3 separate regions of the Homo sapiens genome follow, and all the other regions are linked to region 3. Evidence: promoter capture Hi-C in human tissues and cell types (Jung and others, 2019). All regions are on one chromosome and are shown on one strand. Each heading gives the region's core, a stretch centred on a gene start or on the middle of the fragment in contact. The rest is flanking DNA. Distances are from core to core; before and after follow the strand shown. Region 1 holds the start of WFDC8 (WAP four-disulfide core domain 8). Region 2 overlaps WFDC2 (WAP four-disulfide core domain 2). Region 3 holds the start of SPINT3 (serine peptidase inhibitor, Kunitz type 3).

Region 1 (3,599 bases), core at 263-2,762, 64 kb after region 3:
TGAGGCAGGCAGATCACCTGTGGTCAGGAGTTCAAGACTAGCCTGGCCAACACGGTGAAACCCTGTCTCTACTAAAAATACAAAAATTAGCCTGGAGTGGTGGTGCACACCTGTAGTCCCAGCTACTCAGGAGGCTAAGGCAGGAGGATCCCTTGAACCCAGAAGGTGGAGGTTGCAGAGAGCCGAGATCACACCACTATGCTCCAGCCTGGGGGACAGAGAGAGATTCCCTCTCAAACAAAACAAAAAAAATAAAAATAAAAATAAATAAATAAATAAAGTATGTAGAGTTTTATTTAATAATTAACCACACAGATTAAAAAATAGAAAGTAGCCAGCTTCCCAGAAGTCTTCTGTGTGCACCTTCTAATTACCATCTCTGTCATGTGTCTTCAGACAGAAGCACATATAAAAACAAGGTTATGTATTGATCAAATGATGAAAATGTGTGGTCAGAGGCTTGCATTTTCCCTAGGAGCAATGGCTCAGTATTTGCTAATCCGGTGTTCACAGTGACTTTACAGAACATAACTACCCCCAAGTAATGGGAATCAACTGTATTTTTATTACTTTGGTGTACAAAGAACTTTGAGCTCTCCATGGCTTGCCACAACAAAAGACTTCCTAGGCAAATTGTCTACTGCTTTGTTCCAAGTGGGGGCTCTACTTGAGGCTGTGGGACCAAGACAAAAGAAGCAGCCTCTATGTGGATTAGGCCCCTTCTCCTGGCAGAGAGAAAGCACAAAGGAGCTGGCAGAAACTCACAGTGCAAAACTCACTATGCATATGCTACATCTGCTCATACTCCAATAGGCAAAGCACAGCTGACAGCAAACCCAAAGTCAATGAGACAGAAATGTGTCTTCCTTCCACGGGCCGTTCTAAAATTGCAAGGTAATGGACAGGAGTGTCCTCTTAAAGGAAAGATGGAATGAATAGTTGTGAATAATAATATAACCCATCACTACTACTCCTGTTTTAATTTTTTGAAAATGTTTAGATACATATTATATGCTTGTTTAATTTAAAATATCAAACTTTACCTTGCTCAGGCTCTGCCCCTCCACACTGGGCCACTCAAAGATGCCCAACTTACCCTACTTGGGCTCCAACAGCCATATCAGGTTGCATTCGAGACCAGCCTGGCCAACATGGTGAAACCCCGTCTCTACTAAAAATGCAAAACTTAGCCGAGCGTGGTGGCGCACACCTGTAGTCCCAGCTACTAGGGAGGCTAAGGCAGGAGAATCGCTGGATGCATTGATGCCCTCTTCACCCTGCTTAGGCTCTGATTCCTGACACAAGACAGCTCTGTTCTGTGGAACCCCTCCTCACTATGCTTGGCCCAACTCCCCACAGCCGACCACTCTAACTTCTATGTATCCTCCTCATCTCCTTGGGCTCAGACCCTCCATGTCTGGCTACCCACCCCCATAGACACCCTCCTCACCCTCCTTCAGTTCGGACAGTCCACATCAGGCCTCTTCCCTATGGAGACAGCTTCCTCACTTTGCTCCAGCTCTAAGGCTCCTCCCTCATCTGCTCCCCTGCCTGGACACTCTGCTCACCCCACTCAGGCTCTCATTCTATGCCAGTCTGCCCCTCTAGCCCCAGGGGGATGCCTTTCTCAACATGGGCAGGCTGGTCTCCATGCTATGCTGCTTCTTGCCTCTTCACTGGGCATTCTCATCTACCCCTGGCTCCAGCACACCAGGCCAGCAGCCCTCCTACAGAGACACCCTCCTTGACCTGTTCCAGCTCTGATGCCCACACGGAGCCAGCCGTGGCTCCCTTCCCCTTGGGGCAAACGCCTACCTTGCTAAATGTGCCTATCTAATGGCTTTAGGACTGACTAGTTCAGTTAGTAAAGAAAAGGAGACAAAACAAGGAAGAGCTACTTTTCCTTTTTGTAAAAATATGTATTGTGAAAAACACCACAAAAATAAAAATATGCATGAAACATTAATGTTCAGTCTAACGAACTATTACGAAGTGACCACTCATTAAACTATCACTGAAATCAAGTAAAAAATTTCCAACACTTTCTGCTCCTTTTTCATTCTTTTCCAGTCACAACCCCTTCCTATGCTCTCAAAGGCAGCTAATGGTAGTGACTTTCTTTTTCATATTTTCAAGATCATATGTATTCCCCTAAATATGTTTTTGTTTTTGTCTGCTTCTGTTCTATATCAATGGAGTCACTTGGAATGTATTCTTTTGTGCCTGGCTTTTTGTGTTCAACATTATATTAATGAATTCCATCCACATTGTTTTGTGTAGCTGTATTTTGTCAATTTTCATTGCCATGCCATCTATTGTATGACTACACACATCTCTACTGAGTTGTTTATAGTTTGCAGCTGTTAAGAATAAAGCTGCTGTGTGTATACATAGCATGTATGTAATAACGTTCTGCACGTGTATCCCAGAACTTAAAGTATAATAAAAAACTAGGATTTTCTAAATAAAAATGTTATTTATATCAACATGTAATAAGTTTATTACGTTAAATGAATTAATAAATGTTTTTAAATGTCAAAAAAATTTTAAACAATTTACTCATGTAAAAAAAAGAATAAAGCTGCTATGAACACTCTGTGTGCATTTGCTGGAGCACGTGGGCAGGTGTTCTTGTAGGTTATACATTCAGCATAGGGAATGATGGGTTACAGGGTATGCATATCTTCAGCTTCTCAAGCTGATACCAAATTATTTCCCAAAGAGTTTGTACCAATTCACAGCCTTGCCATTGGTAGTTGAGAGTTCCTATTGTTCCATAACCATGCTGTATGTAGAACTGTCACAATCTTTTCATTTTTACCATCCTGCTACGAGTATGGAAATACATCACTGTGGACTTAATTTAAATTTCTTGACTACTAATGAGGTTGAGCACCTTTTTAGATCTTTATTAACCACTTGGCTATCCTCTCTTTGATTTTCTTTTCAAATGTTTTGCTCATTGTTCTCTGGGGTTTTCTGACTTTTTCTTGCTGATTTCTACTGGAGTCATGTCTTTCCTCAGTTATATGTATTATGAACATCTTCCAGGATCAAGGGTAATCTTCTAAAACCCTTATTGGCTTGTCTTTTACCTTTTGAATGAAAGTTTTTATCACGTGCCCTTCCTACCCCAAAGACAGAATCAGGAATCCTTTTTCTATGTTCCTTTCCTACAATACAATAACTCGCTACAATACAATACAGTAACTCCAATATCTGAAGTCTTTGTGGACCTCTGCTGTTGGTTGTTTTTCTTGATTTTTTTCATCTTGTTTTCTTAAGATCTGTGTGATTTTTTTTATTGTGAGAGTACATATTTAATGGAAGTTTATGTATGTAACAATACTTTGTGGAATTTCTTGGATTCCTGTGTTTAAAGGAGAATTCTTCCGAATCAACTTGTCCTCAATTTTTCCCTAACAACTCATGCAATTTTGAATTAAATTCATAGCTTTAGATTTATCAGACCATGCACATGTGCCAATTTTCCTACTCTGCTCTTATGAAAGGAAACAAGGTTGCAGTTACAAATTCTCAGAATAGTCTTTTTTTTTTTTTTTGAGATGGAGTCTCGCTCTGTTCCCCAGGCTGGAGTG
Region 2 (3,270 bases), core at 253-2,752, 39 kb before region 3:
TTCATTGATTTTTTTTGAAGGGTTTTTCATGTCTCTATCTCCTTTAGTTCTCTCTGATCTTAGTTATTTCTTGTCTTCTGCTAGCTTTTGAATTTGTTTGTTCTTGCTTTTCTAGTTCTTTTAATTGTGATGTTAGGGTGTCAATTTTGGATCTTTCCTGCTTTCCCTTGTGGGCATTTAGTGCTATAAATTTCCTTCTAAGCACTGCTTTAGCTGTGTCTCAGAGATTCTGGTATGTTATGTCTTTGTTCTCATTGGTTTCAAAGAACTTATTTATTTCTGCCTTGATTTTGTTATTTACCTAGTAGTCATTCAGGAGCAGGTTGTTCAGTTTCCATGTAAGGTTATGCGGTCTTGAGTGAGTTTCTTAATCCTGAATTCTAATTTGATGGCACTGTGGTCTGAGAGACTGTTAGGATTTCCGTTCTTTTGCATTTGCTAATTAGTGTTTTACTTCCAATTATGTGGTCAGTTTTAGAATAAGTGTGATGTGGTGCTGAGGAGAATGTATATTCTGTTGATTTGGGGTGGAGAGTTCTGTAGATGTCTATTAGGTCTGCTTGGTCCAGAGCTGAGTTCAAGTCTTGGATATCTTTGTTAATTTTCCGTCTCATTGATCTGTCTAATATTGACAGTGGGGGTTAAAGTTTCCCACTATTATTATGTCGGAGTCTAAGTCTCTTTGTAGGTCTCTAAGAACTTGCTTTATGAATCAGGGTGCTCCTGTATTAGGTGCATATATATTTAGCATAATTAGCTCTTCTTGTTGCATTGATCCCTTTACCATTGTGTAATGCCCTTCTTTGTCTCTTTTGATCTTTGTTGGTTTAAAGTCTGTTTTATCAGAGAATAGAATTGCAACCCCTGATTTTTTTTTGCTTTCCATTTGCTTGGTAAATATTCCTCTATCCCTTTATTTTGAGCCTATGTGTCTTTGCACTTGAGATGGGTCTCCTGAATACAGCACACCAATGGGTCTTGACTCTTTATCCAATTTGCCAGTCTTTGTCTTTTAACTGGGGCATTTAGCCTGTTTACATTTAAGGTTAATATTGTTATGTGTGAGTTTGATCCTGTCATTATGATGCTAGCTGGTTATTTTGTCTATTAGTTGATGCAGTTTCTTCATAGTGTCGATGGTCTTTACAATTTGGTATGTTTTTGCAGTTGCTGATTCCAGTTGTTCCTTTCTATGTTTAGTGCTCCTTTCAGGAGACCTTGTAAGGCAGGCCTGTTGATGAGAAAAATCCCTCAGCATTTGTTTGTCTATAAAGGATTTTATTTCTCCTTCATGTATGAAGCTTACTTTGGCTGGATATGAAATTCTGGGTTGAAAATTCTTTAAGAATATTGAATATTGGCCCCCACTGTCTTCTGGTTTGCAGGGTTTCTGCAGAGAGATCTGCAGTTAGTCTGAAGGGCCTCCCATAGTGGGTAACCCAACCTTTCTCTCTGGGTGCCCTTAACATTTTTTTCTTCATTTCAACCTTGGTGAATCTGATGATTATGTGTCTTGGGGTTATTCTTCTCAAGGAGTATCTTTGAGGTGTTCTCTGTATTTCCTGAATTTGAATGTTGGCCTTTCTTGCTAGGTTGGGGAAGTTCTCCTGTATAATATCCTGAACAGTGTTTTCCAACTTGGTTCCATTCTCCCCATCACTTTCAGGTACATCAATCAAACATAGGTTTGGTCTTTTCACATAGTCCCATATTTTTTGGAGGCTTTGTTCATTCATTCCTTTTCATTATTTTTTCTCTAATCTCATCTTCATTCTTTATTTCATTAAATTGATCTTCAATCTCTGATATCCTTCTTCTGCTTGATCAATTCGGCTATTGATACTTGTATAGGCTTCATGACGTTCTCGTGCTGTGTTTTTCAGCTCCATCAGGTCATTTATGTTCTTCTCTAAACTGGTTAATCTAGTTAGCAATTCCTATAACCTTTTTTCAAGGTTCTTACCTTTCTTGCATTGGGGTTAGAACATGCTCCTTTAGCTTGGAGGAGTTTGTTATTACCCACCTTCTGAAGCCTACTTCTGTCAATTTGTCAAACTCATTCTCCGTCCAGTTTTGTTCCCTTGCTGGCGAGGAATTGTGATCCTTTGGAGAAGAGGTGTTCTGGTTTTTGGAATTTTCAGCCTTTTTGTGCTGGTTTCTCCCCATCTTCGTGGATTTATCTACCTTTGGTCTTTGATGTTGATGATCTTTGGATGGGCCTTCTGAGTGGACGTCCTTTTTGTTGATGTTGATGCTATTCCTTTCTGTTAGTTTTCCTTCTAACAATCAGGCCCCTCAGCTGCAGGTCTGTTGGCGTTTGCTGGAGGTCCACTCCAGACCCTGTTTGCCTGGCTATCACCAGCAGAGGCTGCAGAACAGCAAAGATTGCTGCCTGTTCCTTCCTCTAGAAGCTTTGTCCCAGAGGGGCACCCGCCAGATGCCAGCCAGAGCTCTCCTGTATGAGGTGTCTGTCAGCCCCTGCTGGAAGGTGTCTCCCAGTCAGGAGACACGGAAATCAGGGACTCACTTGAGGAGGCAGTCTGACCCTTAGCAGAGCTCAAATGCTGTGCTGGGAGATCTGCTGCTCTCTTCAGAACCGGCAGGCAGGCTGAAGCCACATCCACAGCTGCCCCTTCCCCCAGGTGCTCTGTCCCAGGGAGATGGGAGTTTTACCTATAAGCCCCTGACTAGGGCTGCTGCCTTTTTTTCAGAGATGCCCTGCCCAGAGAGGAGGAATCTAGAGAGGCAGTCTGGCTACAGCGGCTTTGCCGAGCTGTGTTGGGCTCTGCCCAGTTTGAACTTCCTGGTGGCTTTGTTTACTCTGTGAGGGGAAAACTGCCTACTCAAGCCTCAGTAATGGTGGACGCCCCTCCCCCTACCAAGCTTGAGAGTTCCAGGTCAACTTCAGACTGCTGTGCTGGCAGTGAGAATTTCAAGCCAGTGGATGTTAGCTTGCTGGGCTCCATGGGGGTGGGATCCGCTGAGCTAGACCACTTGTCTCCCTAGCTTCAGCCCCCTTTCCAGGGGCGTGAATGGTTCTGTCTCACTGGCATTCCAGGCACCACTGGGGTATGAAAAAAAAATCCTGCAGCTAGCTCAGTGTCTGCCCAAATGGCCACCTAGTTTTGTGCTTGAAACCCAGGGCCCTGGTGGTGTAGGCACCCAAAGGAATCTCTTGGTCTGTGGGTTGTGAAGACCGTGGGAAAAGTGTAGTATCTGCTCCAGAGTGCACTATTCCTCACGGCACAGTCCCTCATGGCTTCCCTTGGC
Region 3 (3,322 bases), core at 586-3,085:
AAGAAACTAAGGCCAGATAAATGAAGTACCTGTCCTAATGTCAGGCTAGGAAGCAGTAGGACCAAGAATCAAACCCAGCATGGTTCGACTGCAAAGGCTTGCAGGTTCTCCATCCATCTTGGTTGTTGTAAAATGAGTGAATGCACAGATGAATGATCACACCTATGGTGGAACTTCAGGCAGCAGCCTAGGGCTTGGAAAGGTTCAGACTCTGTCTTATCCTCCTACCTGCAAGGCTGACGCTAAGGGTGCAGGAGAATGGGGAAGAGGCAGAATAGCTTATTCAATCCAGGTGGGAGGTGGAGGGGCATGTTCTTAAGACATCCTAGTCACTGCATCATCGGCCCTTAGACCCTTACAGGTGACTCTGTAGGGGCTGGAGTCCCATCTGCTCTTAGTTTTCTCAGTCTTGCTTCTCTGCTCTTCCATTCCATTAAACCAAAGGAAAATCACTTGACTTGCTTCTTTTTTATGTAAAGTAGATAATGACACCCTGTGTGTGTGTTTTGAGTGTGACAGAAGCTGTTCTAAGTGCTTTACAAGAATCTATTAAGAGCTAAGTTATACTGAGAGCTTGACATACATCAGACTATTTGATTAATAAAGCAGAAAAGATGGTTAATCTTTTTTTATAGAAGAAGAAACTGATGCTCAGAGAGGCTATAAATGATGTTCCTGAGGCACAGAGTTTGTAAGTAGAGGAGCCTGGACCAGAACCCAGGTGTGTCTGACTCCAGGAATGCTCATACTGTAAACCACTACATTCTTCTTACTTATGGCAGACATTTTCAAACTTGAGTATGCGTCAGAATCATCTAGAAGGCTTGTTAGAGAGACCCACCTCCACAGTTTCTGATCAGGTGGGACTGGGAACTAGCATGTTTCCAGTTGATACTGCTGCTGCTATTGCTGTCAGACTAGGGGACAAACTCGAGAACCACTCATCTATAAGGTTATTGGGAGGTTTAGAGTTCCATTTATGTCTAAGAATCTATCATTAATAGCTCCATGTACATACATGCAGAGAACTATGCTTGCACATGCAAGAATGTTCACTGGCACATTGACAGTGATAATCTCCAGAGGGTAAGATTTTGATAATTTTTCACCTTCTTTCTTACCCTTTTGTGTATTCTAATATGCATTTTTATACAGGGCATCCTACTGGCTGCTTAAAAATCTTGGAAACTGCTGCCTACCATCCCCATTTCCAGCAGATTATCTTAGCTATAACTGCACTTCATCTCCCCACTTCCATTTGCAGATTCCAAGCTTCCACAGAGAAAGTGGTCCAGGAAGGAGCCTTTTCTGACAAGTGCATCTAACTTGGCTAAGTCCCTCACTCTCAAATTCTGGCTCTGATCTCCTTTTCCCAACCTCTCCTTGCCTGCCACCAGCCCCACCCCAGACATTGAAGGCCCCTTTTCCTGCTTTACTTATTTCATTTTCTATAGCACTTTGATCATCTATCATTTGTATTAGGTATTGTATGTCTCTCTCCCATTAGCATCTTAATTTCACAAAGGCAGGGTCTCAGGCTCTTTGCTTTAACCTCAGCACCTAGGACAGTGCCTGGCACATAACTATGTGCCCAACATATGTCTGATGAAGTGAATTGAACTGAATTGACTCTCAATCCGGTAAGGTAAGAAATGGGCTCTGTTTGTGCTGCATCACCTCCCCCACCACCCCGCCCCCCAGCCTGATTCCCAGTCTATTCTTTGAGATCCCACATTTCATACCAACCTCGTGCTAGTTCTGATCGAAGCTCTAGGCAGAGAGTGAGAATCAGGAGAAACGAGAGAGAGGCCTGAAGCTGCATGGTGCCACTCAGCCAGTGGCTCAGCCTGGGGTTGCCATTTTAGGGAGAAAAGGGACCAAGGGGAGGAGCCTGGCCCCACATCCAGCTCATTCACCTTTAACTCAGGCTTTTCATGGGGCTGGGCTGCCTCAGGAACAGAGTGTTCAGCCAAAGCACAGCTTCACCTCTCTCCTCCTGGCCTTATCTGATCTGGCCACCCAGGCTACTTTAGTACCACTTCAGGGTGGAAGCCTTTTTCACAATAATAAAAAGACAGCAGCCATTTTTGAGTACCTTTCCTTTTCCAGGCACCATGCAAAATAGTTTTCACACATTGCTTCCCTTAAGTCTACACGGGAATCCCACAACACTAACACTCCCATTTTGTAGATGAGAGGAGGTTATGCTACTTTGACCATTGTTACATGGACAGCAAGTTTCAGAGACAAGACTGAGACCCCGGTCTGTCTGCTTCAGTGCCCTCGTATCACTCATTCATTCAACAAACATTCATCAAGTACCCACACTGCACCAGGCAAAGTATTAGATGCTGCCTCCATCCCATCTGGGTGCTCCCAGGAAATTATGGCAACAACACACACAAACACATTGGAAGTCAGAAACAGTCACCTACTTGGAGGAGGAGCAGATTCATTATATTTTAATAGAAATATCAAAAGCACCATGTAGAAGGAGGGCCCAGCTTTGTTTGCTTCAGAGGGTCATGGTCTCTAGAGACACACCCCCAGAATCCAGCACATTCCAACTGTCTCCTTTCCTTGACTCTCTAGAGATCCATTTTTTTTGAAAGACAAAGCCAGCATGCTTTAGGGAGATTTAGTGAGCCTCAGATTTAAAATTTGAGGTTGTGATGGGTCCAGCTATTCTTTTTCAAGAAGCATTCTATCATATATTTATTATTATTTATTTTTAATTGAGAAATAAAAATTGTATAAAGGCAGTCCCCAATTTACAATGGTTTGACTTACAGTGTTTGACTTTATGATGGTGCAAACACAATGCACAGTCAGTAAAAACAGTACTTGGAATACCCATACAACCATTCTGTGTTCACTTTTAGAACAGTATTCAATAAATTACATTAGATATTCAACACTTCATTATAAAAGGGGCTTTGTGTTAGATGATTTTGCCCAACTGTAGACTAGTATAAGTGTTCTGAGCAAGTTTAAGGTAGGTAAGGCTAAGCTATGATGTTTGGTAGGTTAGGTGTATTAAATGCATTTCAACTTCTGATATCTTCAACTTAGGCTAGGTTTATTAGGCTATAATCTCATCATAAGTTGAGAAACATTATATATTTATGAGGTACAATATGATGTTTTGAAATATATGTGTGTATATATATATAGAGAGAGAGAGAAATTTTCTCTCTTAGCAATTTTCAAGTGTACAATATGTTATTAACTACGGTCACCATGCTGTGCAATAGGTCTTTACAACTTATTCCGTCTGTCTAACTGAAATTTTGTACCCTTTGACCAGCACCTTCCCAATACT

What was found. The method cuts DNA at HindIII sites, captures the fragments that hold promoters and counts their contacts. A contact is called where the count stands out against the background at its distance.
Region 1: a contact is called between the fragment with the promoter of WFDC8 here and the fragment with the promoter of SPINT3 in region 3, in 9 of the 25 tissues and cell types used here (adrenal gland, bladder, heart left ventricle and 6 more).
Region 2: a fragment that was not itself captured here is called in contact with the fragment with the promoter of SPINT3 in region 3 in 3 of the 25 tissues and cell types used here (adrenal gland, heart right ventricle and liver).

The regions. Positions count from the first base shown.
Region 1 is chr20:45,577,772-45,581,370 of GRCh38, forward strand. WFDC8 (WAP four-disulfide core domain 8) reads right to left here and starts at 1,513. Exons shown (of 6, transcript NM_130896.3): 1 at 1,451-1,513. The coding sequence starts at 1,476. RefSeq lists an enhancer at 328-1,263. The HindIII fragment of the contact is 18,093 bases long and covers 1-3,599 here.
Region 2 is chr20:45,475,136-45,478,405 of GRCh38, forward strand. All of the region lies in intron 2 of WFDC2 (WAP four-disulfide core domain 2), which reads left to right. Among named protein-coding and RNA genes, the nearest start is that of WFDC2, 7.0 kb to the left of the region's middle. The HindIII fragment of the contact is 2,290 bases long and covers 358-2,647 here.
Region 3 is chr20:45,513,787-45,517,108 of GRCh38, forward strand. SPINT3 (serine peptidase inhibitor, Kunitz type 3) reads right to left here and starts at 1,836. Exons shown (of 2, transcript NM_006652.2): 1 at 1,747-1,836. The coding sequence starts at 1,822. All of the region lies in intron 1 of LOC107987282 (a long non-coding RNA gene), which reads left to right. The HindIII fragment of the contact is 13,872 bases long and covers 1-3,322 here.